Linked DNA regions of Homo sapiens: region 2 is linked to region 1. The links are contacts of gene promoters, found by promoter capture Hi-C in blood cells and fetal thymus (Javierre and others, 2016). All regions are on one chromosome and are shown on one strand. The core of a region is centred on a gene start or on the middle of the fragment in contact, and the rest is flanking DNA. Distances in the headings are between cores, read along the strand shown. Region 1 holds the start of CACNB1 (calcium voltage-gated channel auxiliary subunit beta 1). Region 2 overlaps LASP1 (LIM and SH3 protein 1).

Region 1 (6,036 bases), core at 1,243-3,742:
CAGAAATCGGTTTTAAACTTAAAAACATAAAAAAGTACCCCTTCCGTAGGGAAAGTGGTATAGTCCGACTTCCTACTAGACATGCGCAGCAAGGGTTCCCAATCACGTGGTTATCTGTAACCGGAAGTCAGCTGGATTGCGCAGGCGGAGTGAGAGAGGTTTTGCTAGAGTGGCCTGGTGTTTGCGGGCGTTCGGGGGGTTGTGGGTGGATGTTTTATTAGCTGAGAAAAAATCAGTTAAAGAAGCGAGAGAGAATGACAACAGATATCAGACAAAGGCGAACTCTTATTCACTCTTGTAGTAGATTGAAAACCCCTGGAGTGCAGAATCGATCACTAAAAGATGTTAGTGTTTTTACGCCACTGCGGGTCTTGCAAGCTCTTGGAGGGCGGGAACTAGTCTCAGTCTCATTTGGCTCACAACTGTACTGCGGCAGGCATGGATCCGCGATCGAACACACCTCAGAAATACCGCACTGGCTGAATGGATGAATGATTGCAGAAAGTAAAATTAAAAAAAAAAAAAATTGGGTTGGGCTCGATGGCTCATGCCTGTAATCCCAGCACTTTGGGAGGCCAAGGCAGGCGGATCACTTGAGGTCAGGAGTTCGAGACCAGCCTGGCCAACATGGTGAAACCCTGTCTCCACTAAAAATACAAAAATTAGCCGGGCGTAGCGGCGCGTGCTTGTAATTCCAGCTACTGGGGAGGCTGAGGCAGGAGAATCGCTTGAACCCAGGAGGCGGAGGTTGCAGTGAGCCGAGATTGCGCCACTGCACTCCAGCCTGGGCAACAGAGTGAGACTCCGTCTCAAAAAAAAAAAAAAAGCAGTCCTTTTCTTCTGATCTGGAACACCCAATGTAAAAATCCAAGAAGAACATTCTGGGGTTTAAGAAGTCTACATCTGAATTGAGGCTCCAACTCATGATTGGTTCCTGCTGATCACCCTATCCGTTTCATCTCAACTTTCCTGGCTGAGAAAGTAGAAGAGAGAGAAAGGGAAGCAACATTTATGCTACTTCCTCACAACAACACGATTAGCGTTGCCCTCATTTTACAGCTAAGGTAACAGATTCAGAACACAGATATTTCTGATTGCAAAGCCCATACTTTTGCGGTTATGCCAGCCTTTCTTGTCTCCAAGGGGCAGGTGGAAACCCTGCTCAGGGTTGGAACTCTCCTGGAACGTTTCTAATGGGCTTCATCTTCACTCACTGCTCCGCCTTCCCCAAGGTGTTGTGATCAGAGGAATGACAGACTGACCATTCACTTGCTATTAGAGTTGGGTGAGGAGGAGGAGTCCCATAGTCTCCTGTCCTGCGGAACACAGCAAGGTGGTGGCCTTATTGTAAGGTCACTTGACCTGGAGAGGGTCTTCTCCATCTCTCCTTTCTGTGGAGCAGGAGAAGGGGTGGAGTAGGAAGGGAATGGGTCCTCCTGTCATGAGTGACCCCTTCATTGAAACTTACAGCTTCTCCAAACACCCCAGCAATTCATTTAATTCTCCCTCATCCTCCCAATAATACCAGGTGACACAGACTCCACAGTACCAGCAACCCCATTTTATAGGAGAGGAGGAAACTGATGCTCAGAGAGGTGATTTGTCCGGGGCTATACAACCAGAAACAGCCTGAGCCAAATTGGCGCCAGAGTCTATTGCCCAGAATCTCCTATTCCTCTTCTCTCCACCAGTCATGGTGGGTGGCATCCAGATCTTGGATGTTTCTCCCTAAATCAGGGGTAAAGGTGGCGCAATTCTAGGTCAAAGGTCATGAGATCTGATTTTACCAGCTTCTCCTCTCTCAGCTCCATATTTCTTCCTCTTTTCTCATCCAAGAGCAGGGACCTCACCCAGCCCCATTCCTGGCCTTTTGGAAGAACAGGGGTTGGGGGGGCGGTGTATCCTAGTGACTGATTAGGGCAGAACTCCTGGACCCCTGGGATTTATTTTGCTGTCTCTATTGGACACCCTCCCCATCTCAGCCTCAGCCTCCCACCGGCAGCCCCAGAGCCATGTTGGAGGGAGAGGCTTTTCTGTTTGGTTTGAGGCAGCCTGGGCCCCACACTGGGGAGAAAGGAGTTAAAGCCAGGTCCCAGGATCACCGGGACCGGGAAGTTCCGGTGGTCCAAACAGGAGTGGGTTGGGGGGACCCGCAGGAAGAGAGGTTTGGGACAAAAGGGGGGTGGTGCCAGCCATGCCAATCCCCATCAGCGCTCGGCATCCACTGGTAGACCGCCCCCCCACCCCTCCCCCAAGTTCCACGCCTAGTTTCTGCCTTCCCGCCCCAGCGGGCCGCCTGCACCCCACGGCCAGTCAGAGGCCCACCTGCGGCCACCTAGAGCCGAGAGGGGCTTGCCTCCCTGCTGCCGCACGCCCATTGTGTGCGCCGAGCCGGCGGAGGGGCTGCGAGGGGCGGGGCCGGGCGGGCGGAGGGAGGGAGCGAGGGAGGGGCGCGGGGAGATGCTGAGCCTACGGGGGAGGCGGCGGCGGCAGTGGAGAGAGCGGGAGGAGCGAGGGAAGGCAGGAAGGAGGCAGCCGAAGGCCGAGCTGGGTGGCTGGACCGGGTGCTGGCTGCGCCGCGCTGCTTTCGGCTCCCACGGCCTCTCCCATGCGCTGAGGGAGCCCGGCTGGGCCGGGCCGGCGGCGGGAGGGGAGGCTCCTCTCCATGGTCCAGAAGACCAGCATGTCCCGGGGCCCTTACCCACCCTCCCAGGAGATCCCCATGGAGGTCTTCGACCCCAGCCCGCAGGTGAGGCGTGGTGGCCCGGCCCAACGGGAGGGGGTCGCTCCCGCGGACCGTGTTAAGGTCGGCTCGAGAGGCGCGGGAGAGGAAGGGGTTATATGCCGGGCGCGGAGGAGAGAGGGATGCCTGCGCGCCCCCCATCCTTGCAGGTTGTGATTGATGGGCGCTGGGCCTGGGGCTGGGTGGCGATGCTGCGGAGCGGGGAGGGGGCGGGTGGGCTGCCTGTCACCCTCGCCTCCTTATCTCCCCCGCGTCAAGGTTCCTGCCGCTTGGGCACCAGCTTCAGTGGGCTGAGCGTGGGGGTGCTGGTGGAGGGGGATCTGGGCCTTGAGAAGGGGAGGTTGAAAGAGGCTAGAAAGCGAGCCAGGCAAGGGGGGCGACGCAGAGCACGCTCGGGGGCGCCAGGCGGGTGTGGGTGGGGCGGGGGTGGCACGAGGAGGTGGCCGAGGCGATGGTCAGAGGGCGGTGCCAAATGCCAACAGGCCTTCAAAGCCGCAGACACTGGTTCTCGAGGGTGGGGAAAGAGCCAACCCCGGTCGAGGTCCCCTCCCAGCCACCTGGGCTCCATCTCTATGTCGGACCTGCTCCCCTCCCCCCACACCCACGTTGACTTACCCCACCCCCACCCCCGCCCCAAAAACGCCTCCAAAGTTTGGAAAGTTGGATGGATGCCAACTCATAGGAGGGGGGGAAGCTGTTTTACCTGGGGGAGGGGTCTACTTCTCCATCCCCACCCGCACACTTTTCCTACACCCCTGGTTACTCCCAGGAAGTGGCATTCTTGGGCGCGGTGGGTTCTCATGGGGTGACCAGCAGGCTCTGGGATGGTCGCGCCAGGGGATTTCTTTGGGAGTGTCCTTCTCCAAGGATAGCATTAACTCTTCTGTTACTGTGGCCACCAGCTGTAACCACCATGATAATGTGACTGATGGGTATGTAGAGGGGTCAAGTCAGACCTAAAAATACCTTCCTCCACCCCAGGCCCCTTTGAGCCTGGGAGGCAGCTGACTGGGGCCTTCCTTTCAGCTGTCCCCTGTCCCTCTGAGTGCCACTCCCTTTGCCCAGCCTGGCAGTGGTGGGGGAGGGTGGTGTCTGGGATTCACTGGGTGATCCTCCTAGGTTTGTAGGGAGCATCACAACTTGAGTTGGGGTATATGTCTGGTTTGAGAGAAGGGCGGGGAGGGGAGGATCTTGGAAAGGTCCCCAGGGGCCCTCCTCTCCCATTTTCCATCCTCTTTCTTGTACCCTGATCCCAGCAGCCAAAGCCCCCAGTCTGGTCATGGCCCCTCCAGGTTCTTTGGCCAAAGAAAGTCTAGGATGGAGACCAAGGGCGGGGACTTGGAAGTCTGAGCCCTCACTCACTCTCCCCATTCTGAACTGGGCTGAGGCCAAGTGTGTGTGGGTACAAGCTGGGGAGGGCCAGAAGCAGCTCTTCTTACAAGAGGACTGGAAATACCTGACGCCCTTAACCTGAACGTGTGGCTTCCTGAATGGTCAGGCGGTATTTCCTCCACCCGGTCTCTGAGACTGAGCCAGCTTACCCCCTAGAGATCTGTGGGGCTGTGTCCTAGGCTCATGTGGTGCGGGGCCGAGGGACATTTAGATTGACGTAGCCTGATGGGTACCATGGGCATGGGGCATGGGCAGTGGCAGCTGGGGGCCACAGGGTAGAAGCTTGATCCCTCTTGCCCCCTTGGGGAGGATTGTAGCTACTGTGATTGTGAGAGAGGGAGCTGAGAAAAAGTCCTGTCTGGGCAAGGGATGAGAGTGGGGAGCAAAATTTGCCCCCATGGTGCCAGGGATCAGGCTGGATGTTTACTCTCCAAATACAGTTCCATGCCCCTACTCCCTCCCCAGAAATCTGGCTCTGAGTCTCCAAGAGAGCTGTCATCCCCTCCCTACTCTGTGAATAGCGAAGGGAAGAGTTGGGCACAGGGGAGAAGCCAGGCTGGGCCCTGGGTTGGCAGTTCCTCCTCTCTGGGGGCCACCAACACAAACAGCCCTGCTCTGCTCCTGCGGAGGGGGAGTGGGGGTGACTTTCCCGCTCTCCCCACCCAACACCCAGCACTGCCGGCTGCCTCTCCCTTCCTCGGAGGCCTCTGCAGCCTGCCCAGCATCTTAATTAGCTCTGCTGCCTAATGAGCCTCCAGCTTCTCCGCGCCTCCCCCCTTCCCAGCCTCTCTGGCTTGGTTTGGTGGTTTCCGTGTGGGTCTTCTGGGGCTCTCTTGCACTGGTCCCCACTCCTGGCTGTGCTCTGGGCCCTCTCCGTGAGGATGGGAGACCCTCCCTCCCCTTGGGTCGTACCACCTCAGGAGGAATGTGCAGGGGGGTGGAGGTGGGGCTGGGAGTGCTGTTCCCAAGCTTGGCTGTAGCTCTGGGGCTGGCAAGATGAGGGTTGGGAAAGGGCCCTTCTGATTCTACTCTTGTTCCTTTCCTGGCCTCTTCAGGGCAAATACAGCAAGAGGAAAGGGCGATTCAAACGGTCAGATGGGAGCACGTCCTCGGATACCACATCCAACAGCTTTGTCCGCCAGGTAATGGGGAGGCTGGGCGGAGAGGAGGGAGGTGGCTGGTTGGTGGAGACCAGCATTGGTGAGCCAGGTCTGCGGTATTGTCCAGGCACCCTTCCCTGTGCCATTTGTCACCTGCCTGGAGCCACCCCATCACCCTGACACCCCATGACCTCTTCTGGATGTGCTGTCAGCGGCACCCACTCGCTCAGCCCCCGCCCCTGCCCGGCCCCTCCCCCAGCACCAGGCACCCTCCCCTGCTGCCTGCTGGCCTGCGTCATCTCATTCAGGGACAGCCTGGCCTGCCTCCCTCCAGCTTGCTTCGGGCTGTCACCCACTCCCCCTGCCGGCTGTCTGCTTCCATGTCCTCCCCCAGAATCTGTGACAGGGTTGGGTGGAGGCAGGTCCTAGGAAAAGCAGAGCAAGGATGTTTGGGTCCCTGTAGTCCTGGTGAGGTCCTGGCCAGGGAAACACGCTCCTCACCTCGAGACATGACTGTCTAAGAAGCACAGAGAAAGGGTGATGGTGACGGGGGTGGGGGTGGTTGAGGCATGAGGCTGTTGATTTTATAATAGAGAAGATGATAGCCCAGCACCCCTGCCTGAAAGGGTGTAACTGAGAATAGCTTTCTGGGGTCTTCTGTGCTCAGTCAGTAAGCGGCTGCTCTCATCTGTCAACCCTGGGCCATCTTAGGCTCAGGGTGAGGGACTGAGAGAGGCATGTGGTTGCTATGACTACTTAGCATCTCACCAAAGCCTGGTACCCAAAAAAGGCGAGAGGGGC
Region 2 (5,849 bases), core at 2,756-5,255, 280 kb after region 1:
CTACAGCTCAAACATATGCAGTATCTGCCAGCCCTGTCCATGAATTCCTGAAGTCCCAGCCAAGTGCCTCTCAGCTCAAAAAGCCCCTTGCTTGCCAGGGGTCAGCCATGTCTGGAAGGCTCTGAAAGAGGTCTGCTGGGCAGTAGGACTGCTTCTGTGGATGAGAGGCCTCTTGTTGGACTGGAGAGACCAGGAGCTGTAAGAAACCCAGAAATAAAAAGTCTCAGATGGGGACAACTGCAAAGTACCAGGAGTTCCTCCCTCCTCTCCACCATATCCCACAGTTGGACATCTCCCCGAAAACCCCACCCCAAGTAAAATTTATTTGCCGTCTCACCCTCAAATAAGAATGAGTCAATCATTAAGTAATGCAATTATACAAGCATAGTTGTAAACAACTATATTGCAAGTATGCTGACATGCAAAGATGTGTTTTACCTTTAATTACCAGAAGAAAATAGACAACTTGAGTTTGAGCACCTAACTTGAAGAAGAAATTAGGAAATAATAGTCCCTCCCCACCACATCCATCATTCCCAACCCGTTCTGCCTAAAAATCGTTTACATTGTGGATTTTATTTGTAATTTTTAAAGTCTTATTTTAAATTAGGTCCCAAAGAAAGAAGCTGGCATTTCTTATTCTTTTCAGAGTGGTCTAAGAAAAAAAATAGGAAAGCAAACTCTTTCTTTTTTTCTTTTCTTTTTTTTTTGGAATCAATACCCGAGATAACAGCAGAAGCAAAAATCCACCGGTGCGTCAGCAAGCAGGGCACTCGGCCATTCATCTCCATCCTTCCTTCTGAGCTGTTCTCCAGCAGGCTCCGGCCGCAGCTCCAGGCCACTAGAGCAGATAGATAATGTAGGACAGAATGACCAGGCCTATGATGGCAAAGAACATCAGGATGAAAATATCCAGCATTGTGGATTCCTAGGCCGACCAAGCCCCTGGATTCTGGTGAACCGTGAGCTGTGAGCACGGAGGTTGCAGTCGGTGGAGAGAAATGGCTCCCCTTCACTCCACAGCTCAGCCCTGGTTCTTTCCCCTCCCCCTCCCAGGGGCCTGAGACTGAAGGATGCTGCAGCTCCACCAGCAGCTTCCTGCCCCCCCACCAACCACAGCCAACCAATCACAAAGCCTGGGGGTGGATAGCCAAGGAGATGCCAGATTTAGACCCACAGAACCGCAGAATCAAAGGGGCTCAATTTCTCCCCAGGAACCCAATCCCACCCCTTTGTATCTAAATGGAGCCTGCATGCTCTGGATGTAGGAGGAGATAGGATCCTACCCAGCTCCCCCAAGAGTGAATCCTCCTGACTGCCTTCTTCGCGTTTCCTCTCACACACCTCGGGCAGATTATCTCAGAAAAATCATGGTTGGGTATTGGGTGGGCCATTGGCAACTTCTAAAGGTCACATTATGGGGAGACACAGACAAAAGTTTCGTGTGGATCTCAGTGGGCTTCCCTGAGGGATGAAGCTAACATTTATACATTTCCTACACTGGGCCAGATATCGTACATGTGGTGCAATTTCAACCTCCCTATGAGTCTTTCATAGATGGGGCTCAGAGATGGTCAGAAACTTACCCTAATGGTTCATAGCTTAGATGTGTCAGAGACCAGCCGGGCGCAGTGGCTCATGCCTATAATCCCAGCACTTTGGGAGGCCGAGGCAGGTGGATCACAAGGTCAGGAGTTCAAGACCAGCCTGGCCAAGATGGTGAAACCCTGTCTCTACTAAAAATACAAAAGTTAGCCAGGCTTGGTGGTGCATGCCTGTAATCCCAGCTACTTGGGAGGCTGAGGCAGAGAATTGCTTGAACCCGGGAGGCAGAGCTGAGATCGCGCCACTGCACCCCAGCCTGGGCTACAGAGCAAGATTCTGTCTCAAAAAAAAAATAAAAATAAAAATTAGCCGGGCGTGGTGGCAGGTGCCTGTTATCCCAGCTATTCAAGAGGCTGAGGCTAAAGAATTGCTTGAACCCGGCAGGCAGAGGTCGCAGTGAGCTGAGACCGTGCCATTGCACTCCAGCCTGGGTGACAGAGCGAGACTCCGTCTCAAAAATAAATAAATTAATAAATAAAATAAAAAGTAAAAGGCTGGGTGTGGTGGCTCATGCCTGTAATCCCAACACTTTGGGAGGCTGAGGTAGGTGAATCACCTGAGGTCAGGAGTTCAAGACCAGCCTGACCAACATGGAGAAACTCCAGCTCTACTAAAAATACAAAATTAGCTGGGCATGGTGGCACATGCCTGTAATCCCAGCTACTCAGGAGGCTGAGGCAGGAGAATCGCTTGAACCTGGGAGGTGGAGGTTGCAGTGAGCTGAGATTGTGCCATTGCACTCCAGCCTGGGCAACAAGAGTGAAACTCCGTCTCAAAATAATTAATTAATTAATTAAAAATGTCAGAGACCAGGATTCAAAACTAGGCATGCTGACACCAAAGTCCATATTCTTCCTCTTGCGCCACACTGCTCCCCCTGTTGGTCCGGAAGGCCCCTACACCCCACGTGCACTGCTCAGCTTGCAGTGGACTGCTTTCACATCGATCCACCTACAGGACGAGCACCAGAGACCCCTCCTCCACCCACTCCTTCGTCTCTTTGCAGTCATTACCCACTGTTTTGTTTTCCTTCTTTCTTTTTTTATAGAGACGGGGTCTTGCCATTTTGCCCAGGCTGGTCTCAAACTCCTGGACTCAAGCGATCCTCCCACCTCAGCCTCCCAAAGTGCTGGGATTGCAGGTGTGAACCACCGCACCCGGCCTAGTTTTGTTTTCTTTGGTATCCTCTTCCAAAAGCTCAGCATAGTGTTGTACACAGAGAGGACACTGAAGAATTCCCCAGGGGTATCCCTGAAATTTAAAAAATTCAAGTGGTTTCTTCTGAGGGGGAAAAGAGAATTATTTTATTCTTTTTATTTATTTATTTATTTATTTATTTATTTATTTATTTATTTATTCTTAGACGGAGTCTTGCTCTGTCACCCAGGCTGGAGTGCAGTGGCACGATCTCAGCTCAGTGCAAGCTCTGCCTCCCGGGTTCACGCCATTCTCCTGCCTCAGCCTCCCGAGTAGCTGGGACTACAGGCACCCGCCACCGCGCCCAGCTTATTTTTTGTATTTTTAGTATAGACGGGGTTTCACTGTGTTAGCCAGGATTTTTGTGCCTTTTTATAAGCCTCAATTATTTTCTATTAAATTAAATCATTCCCTAGGACGTCTCTGAGGCCTAGTCTCCTTGGCCCCCACCCCAAATAATATTTTTTTTAAAGGCCTGGGGTTAAGATATATTGGTAACCCCCTCATAATGCAAGACCTCAGGAACTTAGGCCACTGCCAGAAGGAAATCCAGAAACTCCTCCCATTGGCCCATTTCCAGGAGGCAGAGCTTTCTGTGAGCAGGGAGTGGAGACTTGGCAGCAATGTCCCCCAAAGCACTGTTCCATCAAATAGATCTGAAGGTGAATGAAGCCTCCCGGGGAGTGGGGCAGGCCGACATGAGGCAAGCTTTGCCAACTAATTCCCTTCTATTGGGAAAGTATTGGGCTGCCTGCACCCCTGGAGGGGAGCAGGTGTCAGTGCTGTCTCTAATTATACCACCCAGGGCAGCCTTGGATGCTCCCCACATTGCCCCAGCTCAGCTGACTCTGGCCATGTCATTCTCCAGATTACAAATGCTCAGCTCAGGAGAGCCCTCCTCCTCTCCACCCTGCTGTGATTCTGAGGCTGGAGAATTCCTTAGTTCTGAGCCCCAAGAGAGAAATGCCCCTCAAGCAGCTGGACCTGAGGCTGATTGGCAGCACTGAGCAGGGCCAGATTCCCCTCTCTACCACTGTCCTCTTCCCAAGCCCAATGAGCAAGAGGGGAGGCCGCCTGGCCTTCTGGCCAGTCACAGACCCTGGGCACCTGGAGCAAAACATGGAGCCCAGGAGACACACATCTAAGAGCTGCCACAGACACAGGCACGCGGCCTGCCATGGCCGGGTGGCACAGCACCAGACTGTGAGCATCACATGGGGGTCTCAGGCCCCACTCTGCCACTAGCTGTGACTGCCACCAATCTGCTTTGCCTTTCTGGGTTTCAGTGAGCCCCTCTATAAGTAGTTACTTCTCTCACAGGGTTGTGAGGAAGAAGGAAGAAAGGGGATGTGTATTAAAGATTACATTCAGAAGGCACTGTGAATAGTGCTTTGGGTTGCCAGGCCACCTTACAGACAGCTTTATCCAGGTCCCGTCCCACTGTGGAATGCCCTGTCATCTCGTTCCTCAAATGCGTGGAGCTCCTGCTCTCTGCCTGGCAGCGGCAGAGTGCTAGAACTGCTCCCCAGCCAAGCTCATTCATTAATTCAACAGCTCCGCACCGCTCCTGGGCAGGTACCCGGGATTTAGAGATGAATTAGACTCATCACCTGCCCCAAGGGCTCTGGCTAGTGGGGAGACAGATATGTCACTGAGGAAGTGACACAGTAATACGAGACGGAGCTCAGGGAAGCTTCCGGGAGCATCACCAAGTTGGGCAGAGAGGAATGAGCGGGTGGAAAGCCAGAAGTAGGTTGGTGGGGAGTTCTCAGCAAGGAGGAAGTAGGGGCCAAGGGCCTGACAGACAGCAGCAAACTCCCCCTTGGCATCCAGACAAGTCATTCTCTCCCCGAGGGGCAGCAGAGGTCCCAGGAGGGCCACAGGCCAGTGCCCCCAAGCAGACAGGACACACACACACACACACACACAGTGGCACCTTACAGCTAGACACACACACACACAGCAGCACCTTACAGCTAGAGACACACACCCACACACAGACACACACAACAGCAGCTCAGAGCCAGAGAGGAAACCAAGTCCGCAGGTAAAAATTATACTTTTATTTGAGTCACCAGGAGAAAGATTCACTTGTGGTTCAAGTCAAATGTTCAGAATCATAACAGGCCAGAAAGGTTTGATCCCGAGCACAAGCCCACGAGGGAGGGGACCAAAACAGACCAAAATGAGACAACAACCCCATATAAAAAGATGAACTGGCGGCTTCACACACTCACACACATACACATACACACGGATGAAATGTTTGGACAGAGGCAAATTTCACGTGGTCATTTCTGTTTCTTTTTAAATACAGGTTTGTAGGGTGGTATTTTGTTTTTTCCAGCTATAAAAAAAGGCCCAAAAGTGCATGTGTGAGGGGGGAAAGGCAGAAATTAAGCAATAAAGTCATTTTCCCTGGAGGGACATGAGAGGGAGAAAACAGGAGGCAGTGCTGGGAGAACGCACTTTCCTCACCACTGGGCTTCTTGTTATTCTTAGTATTGGTCCACAAAAGTTATATTCACATTCTAGCTTTGATGCCTCTTTCCTGGGATTAAATGAGCTGAAAGACCTCTGTGAACTGTAGAGAAGACCAGGGGCTCAGCCCAGCCCAGCCCAGCCCCTCAGGGCTCTGTGCTCTTCTAGGGATGGATGGTTTTGGTAAAGAACAGACGCCCAGCAGCCCCCGGTCACTCAGCACCAGTGTGACAGTCCCTCCTCTCTCTGGGGGTGTGTAAGAAAACGGCCCCTATTTTTAGGACAGGAAGAGTAGAGGGAGGGCCTGCAGCAAGATTCCATGACTGGCTTGCCTTATCTGGGAAGGAGAATTAAGCTGAGTGAAAACAGGCTGCTTCTTGCTGCTCCTCCCTTCCACTCACCACTCTCCCAAACTCAGGTCCTCTAAGGGGATGTGTCCCTGACCTTTGGTCCCCAAATCCACATTGTGCTTTGAGATCAAGAGGAAACAGAATGCACCAGCGCCACCCAAGACTCCCAAGAGATTCTCTGCCTCCCCGAGCCCCCAAATCGCCCAATATAAGATA

The links. Contacts are between HindIII fragments. The CHiCAGO score rates a contact against its expected background, and 5 or more counts as called.
Region 2: a fragment that was not itself captured here is called in contact with the fragment with the promoter of CACNB1 in region 1 in 1 of 17 cell types (monocytes); the score reaches 6.2 in monocytes.

What each region holds. Positions count from the first base shown.
Region 1 is chr17:39,194,125-39,200,160 of GRCh38, reverse strand. CACNB1 (calcium voltage-gated channel auxiliary subunit beta 1) reads left to right here and starts at 2,492. Exons shown (of 14, transcript NM_000723.5): 1 at 2,492-2,749; 2 at 5,191-5,277. The coding sequence starts at 2,666. It overlaps LOC124903996 (a long non-coding RNA gene), which reads left to right. Exons shown (of 2, transcript XR_007065745.1): 2 at 1-6. RefSeq lists silencers at 2,195-2,324, 2,335-2,734, 3,165-3,294. The HindIII fragment of the contact is 8,246 bases long and covers 1-4,419 here.
Region 2 is chr17:38,920,764-38,926,612 of GRCh38, reverse strand. It overlaps LASP1 (LIM and SH3 protein 1), which reads right to left. Exons shown (of 7, transcript NM_006148.4): 7 at 4,843-5,849. LASP1NB (LASP1 neighbor) reads right to left here and starts at 999. Exons shown (of 2, transcript NM_001414697.1): 1 at 722-999; 2 at 1-196. The coding sequence starts at 919. The coding sequence ends at 842. RefSeq lists an enhancer at 4,004-4,614. The HindIII fragment of the contact is 985 bases long and covers 3,513-4,497 here.